Linked DNA regions of Homo sapiens: region 1 is linked to region 2. The links are contacts of gene promoters, found by promoter capture Hi-C in blood cells and fetal thymus (Javierre and others, 2016). All regions are on one chromosome and are shown on one strand. Each heading gives the region's core, a stretch centred on a gene start or on the middle of the fragment in contact. The rest is flanking DNA. Distances are from core to core; before and after follow the strand shown.

Region 1 (2,700 bases), core at 160-2,659, 530 kb before region 2:
TAGTCAGGGGTGGCTAGTAACCATTCTCGGGGGCATGCCCCTCTTGCATCCAGATAGTCCCTGAAATGCCCTGTGGAGGGCTGCCCTGTATATGCATGTATAGGTCATTCCCTGTTTCCCTTAGGAAGGGCTAGTGGTAAGAGCCATAACTTTCTCACCCGTAAAATGAAGAAAACGTCACATCCTGCCTATGTTTCCAGTTTATGCTGAAGATCGAATTAGCATATCTGAGAGTACTTTGCAAGCTATGGCATGCTGTGTTCTTGTGAAGCAGTGCTTTTCCTACCACTTTTATCTCTTCCAGCTACTTGAAGACATCCTAGGTTCTGAAACAAAAGTGTGATAAGCTTCCCTGGTAGGAAAGAGAGACTAGAAAACCTCTGTAAAGTCTAAAGCATACTTAGAAGCACAAGGGTAGTAATTTTCTCTGAAAGTAAGAGGCAGCATCTGCTCACCCATTCATAGAGAATATGATGTTAATTACAGTGAGTCACTTTAAATATTTACTGCCCTGATTTTACAGAGAAGAAAATTGGAGCCCAAAACTAGACCCTTAGATCTACATTGACTTTTTGACAACAATGCCTTTGTCTTATACAGTTTTGTAACACCAGCGCCTATTATTAGGTGCTCATAAATGTTAGTTTAACTGAAAACATTGCCCAAATTTCACTGAGCCATATATTATCCAGGAAATTAAGTATTTAAGTAAAAGCTGACAGTTATAGGTTAGAAACCAAGAAGAAGCCTTCCAAAAGCTCAACCTAATAGACCCTAGAACAGATGGCAAGTTCATTCATTCGGCATTTTTTGAGTGTTTTCTGTGTGCCTAGACTCACAGAGATGGAGCTCCTTTGCTATAGTGGCCTCAACCCTACACAATGTTAGGAATGGGTTAGTCCTCCCTGAACTTGGGCATCATTCATGGAGTGGGTAGCTGAGATGACTGAACTTCATCCACATGATTTCTCATGTTCCTGTTTCTTTGAGCTTCTGGGTATTGGGGAGCTAACCTCATGAAGAAACCCTAAGAGCTTCCTCACCCCACATTTATTTATCATTGGGCTTCTTTGGTGTCTCTGCCCCTCCAGTCCCCTCCTTATCTCCTAGGAGGATCTGGACCCCTATGAACCAGATGTCTGGCTCACTAGGGATCTCTCCTGTTTTCCCCCCAGTGTTCTGCCCCTCCATACCTGCCCCTTTTAAGAGACTCCTCCCAAGCAGAAGAGGAGCTCCTTGGGGCTCCATACTTGCCAGCTCTATAGGGATGGAAAGCTGACTCACCCAACCCAGCCCAAACTTGACTTTGGCACTGGAAGCAATTATTACCAGAGGCCAAGAGGACATCTGCCCTGGCATCCAAAGCCCAAGCCTCCAGATCTCAAATAGATCACGTTTTCTTCTAGGACATTTTACCTAGTGTTGGGAGGGTTGGAAAGATGAAAGAAAATATAGGATGGCATTATAAGGAAAATATGGATTTAGAATCAGACAAACTTTATTCTAATTCTGGCTCTCCTCCAACTCTCTGTTTGATCTTGGAACTGTCTTTTCATCTTAATTCTTTTAGAATTTCATTTTAACATAGCAGACTCACTTCTGGCCTGCCATCTCCAGTGGAGTATTTCCCACAAACAGCCACATCAAAATCCTTGGGACTTTCAGAGGGAAGATGGCACTGCCTTCCTTTGCTACTACTATTGTTACAATGACATTGAAACTTTTTTTCCCTAAGGAATTAGAGTTGGGAGGAAGCTACATGGGACATTTCTCTTGTTCATTTGACATAGGCTAGGGAATCTCATTGGGAATGTGTGCAACAACAGAGGCACTAGAAAGAAAGAGATTCACTAGAAAGAAAATAGGTTTGTGTCAACCACTGCAGGTGCCCTGTTCATGCCTCCAGGCTAGGGAGTTAAAGATGGGTATCGTAGCGGTGGTTGTGATGATGTTGATGATATTGACTGTGATAGCAGGTGACAATTTGCTCTGTGCAAAGTGTTTTAAACGTTCTCACAATAACCCCATGAGGTAGGTATTATTAAGGGACCTGTTTCTTCTCTCAAGTCTACAGTCTCCCATCAAACCAGAACCCTTCTTTTCTGAGATCCTGTTTCTCTTGTTTCAATTTAGTTTGATCCTAGATAGATCTTGTCTTTTTCTTGTTACAAGAACAATAATAGTTAATTATTGACTCATGAGGTCTTAGGGTATTTACTACCAACTAAACTGTGCTAACTGTTCTCTCATTTAATCCTTATACTAACATTATTTAATGAGGAAAAACAGACTCAGAGTAATTTGCCCCAAGTCACATAACTGTAAATGGCTAAACTGGGATTTGAGCCCAGACCCAACTAACTCCAGAACCCAAGGTATTGACGCCTGTAATATTTATTGCTTATAGTAATGAAAATGTAGATTAAGCTCCTTGGTTCAGAGAAAAATGTAAGAGAAGTAGTAGAAGCTTCTTTCTGACTAGACTGCCTCTCCACCAACTAAGTCTGTCCTTCTGCATGTATTTAAGCCAGCTTCAGGGTCCTTCCATGCAGGCCGGGGGTGTCGGGCAGTGGCTGTTCATGCCCCCCTTCCAGCTCTCTGCTTGCTTGGTGTCCTTCCCGCCATGCCGCCCAGGGCCTGGGCAGAGCCTTGCCGAAGCCTCGGCTCATGTGTGGCTTTGATTCTTCTCTTTTCAGGCCC
Region 2 (2,700 bases), core at 55-2,554:
GCTGCTCCCACGGCCAGGAATGCCTCCCACACCTTCTTTGCTAGGTATCACCTGCTCACCTGCTAAGACCACTTTGGATTCACCTGTTCTCAGTCACTCCCTGACACTTAGGAAGTTTCCCAGCCTGACCTAAGCACCCTCCCCTGTGAGGATGGTGACTCAGGACCACACTGGATGTTTGCATTCCTAGCATAGCACCTCCTCCATGATGGGAAGCTATCTGTGGCATACCTGTCTTCCCCCATAGAGGTGAGCTCCCCATGAGCCAGAAAGGTGGCTTAGTCACCTCTGTAGTTCCAGCATCCCGTGGGCCTGGTACACTGTAAGGGCTCAGATCATGTCTGGTGAACTGAATGGGCTCTTTTCATTTTAAGTGTTATGTTAGGAATCACTGCAGAGAATGGAGAGGTACATTAAAGAGGTCTTCAGACACCTGAGGATCTTATGGGTTGTTCTGGGTCTTGGTCCAGTTCCTCATTTCCTACTGAGATGGAATCAGCAGCTCTGCAGAACCTCAGATCCAGGGAGGCACTGATGTCAGCAGCTCTGCCTTGCATAGAAATGAACTGAAGCCACTGGGCGTGGTGGCTCACGCCTGTAATCCTAACACTTTGGGAGGCCAAGAAAGGAGGGTTGCTTGAGCTCAGGAGTTCAAGACCAGCTTGTGCAACATAGTGAGACCTCATCTCTACAAAAAATATAAAATTAGCTGGGTGTGGTGGTGCACGCCTGTAGTCCCAGCTACTTGGAAGGCTGAGGCAGGAGGATTGCTTGGTCCTACAGTGAGTAGTAGTGGTGATCGCTTGATCACTACAGTGAGTCGAGGCTGTAGTGAGCCAAGATTATACCATTCCACTGCAACCTGGGCAACAGAGCAAAACCCTGCCAAAAAAAAAAAAAGAAGGAAAATTAAAAAAAAAAAACAACTGAACTGAAGCCTTTGAGTGAGTTTGTCCGCCACATCTCATAGGCTTTGCTCATGAGATCATACAGCCTGGATCATATCATCTCCCAAAAATCTGTATTTGGCATTCAGGGATCCCCTGGCTCCTTCACTGAGCTCCACCAAGCACATGGGGTTTTGCAAGCTGTTGCTGCCAGGGAAAACCCATTGTGGGACTTCCCTGAAGGGCCACTCATGGGCTGGAAGTGTTGGCCAGAAATTCAGGCCAGCAGAGTGGACGAGAGGTGGTCTAGTACCCAGGAACATCAAGGCGGCAGCTGGTCTCTGAGGCCCCAGGACTTGAACCCCTGGGCTTAAGTGACTCCACGGGCTTGAGGCCCAAATAACAAACACAAAGCCACTTGGACCTGATGCAAGGAAACAACCTCCAGCCACCTTCCCCCAGGCCTTTAGAGTGCTGGTCTTTGCACAGAGAAGCACCACAGAGGACAGAAGCCTCCAGGACTCACCCTTCCCCATTTCTGGCCCTACCAGGTGAGTAGAGTGGCCTCAGGATGTGGGGGCTCCCATGAAGATGGACAGGAAGGATCTCTGGGGTTATTTCCAGTCAAGCATAATGCTGTCTTCACGCTTCGAAGCACACAGTGGGGCTTCCCACTCGTCTCTCTCTCCTACTGGGGCTACCTTACTGCATTTCCCCTTCCCCTTCCTTCACCCACCCAGGTAGGTGGGTAGTCCAGCTCTGGTTTATGGGAAGGCTGGAGGTAAATTTGCAAGCAGTTTGCAAAAGTCAGAATGCCTTGCCCAGGCACCACTCTAGATTCTAGACAAAATGAAGGAATGCTTAAAATAACCCATAATACTATTCAAACCCACTATTTAGGACATAGCCTAGGTTTTGAATAGCTGTGGAGATGGGAAAAAAGCAGTAGCCACTTAGATGGTGGGTTTGAAGGAAAAAAAAAAAGAAGAATACCTTTCTCCCTAAGTTCCAGGCCCCTCACACAGCTTTCCAAATGATGCGGGGGCAAGAGAATGGAAGGAATGGGAAGGCACCCCTTGGGTTCTTCCTTGAAATTAGGGCCCATTTAGGGGAAAGGCAGAAATCAGGACATGACCAATTCCCACCCCCATTTCCCAGCACTTCTCACAGATCCCCGCCCAGACCCCACTTGGTTGCCAAGCACACCCAGCTGAGAGCCCTGCCTTGCAGACACAGCCCAGGGAGAGCCACCAGAAACAGAAGCAAAGGCCACATTTATTCCACTTCTTGAAGGTGCAGGCCTTGGACCTGCCCAGACTCACAGTCCTGGCTGCATGTCCCAGGACCAGCTGGAGCCTCAGAGAGTGAGGGAGAGCCAAAGGGGCCCCAAGACACTGGCACTGGCCTTGGCCACCCATTTTCTCAACTTTAGGCTCAGTCAGACCAAGCATAGAAAGAACAGGAGGCTCTCTATGTTGCCTGAGGCTGGCAGTGGTGACCCTCAGAAATCACAAGGGAGCGGAGAGAGCTGTGTTCAACATGAAACGCTTGAAGAGGAAGGAAGACTGTGATGAGGTCGTTTGACCTACTGCCCTGGGGAAACCCCAGGAGGCCTCCTCTCCTGTTGGCTAGGGAGTGAAGTCCTATAAACCAGAGGGAGTGGGAAGGCGTATGAGAGCTTCTTCTCCCCACGGCCCAGCCATGGGCATGGAGGAGCAGTACCTGAGCCTAGAGAAGATAGAAAGGTCAGCCAGGCAGTTGCTGCCACACTCTTTCCTGTGGGTCCCAACAGAGGTGGCCTGGTGCCCAGTCT

The links. Contacts are between HindIII fragments. The CHiCAGO score rates a contact against its expected background, and 5 or more counts as called.
Region 1: a contact is called between a fragment that was not itself captured here and the fragment with the promoter of IKBKE-AS1 in region 2, in 1 of 17 cell types (non-activated CD4 T cells). The highest score is 5.5, in non-activated CD4 T cells.

The regions. Positions count from the first base shown.
Region 1 is chr1:207,027,676-207,030,375 of GRCh38, reverse strand. C1orf116 (chromosome 1 open reading frame 116) reads left to right here. Exons shown (of 4, transcript NM_023938.6): 2 at 2,697-2,700. Among named protein-coding and RNA genes, the nearest start is that of C1orf116, 3.7 kb to the left of the region's middle. The HindIII fragment of the contact is 2,120 bases long and covers 350-2,469 here.
Region 2 is chr1:206,496,332-206,499,031 of GRCh38, reverse strand. IKBKE-AS1 (IKBKE antisense RNA 1) reads left to right here and starts at 1,304. Exons shown (of 2, transcript NR_172918.1): 1 at 1,304-1,438. IKBKE (inhibitor of nuclear factor kappa B kinase subunit epsilon) reads right to left here. Exons shown (of 22, transcript NM_014002.4): 22 at 2,143-2,700. RefSeq lists an enhancer at 1,210-1,359. The HindIII fragment of the contact is 9,082 bases long and covers 1-2,700 here.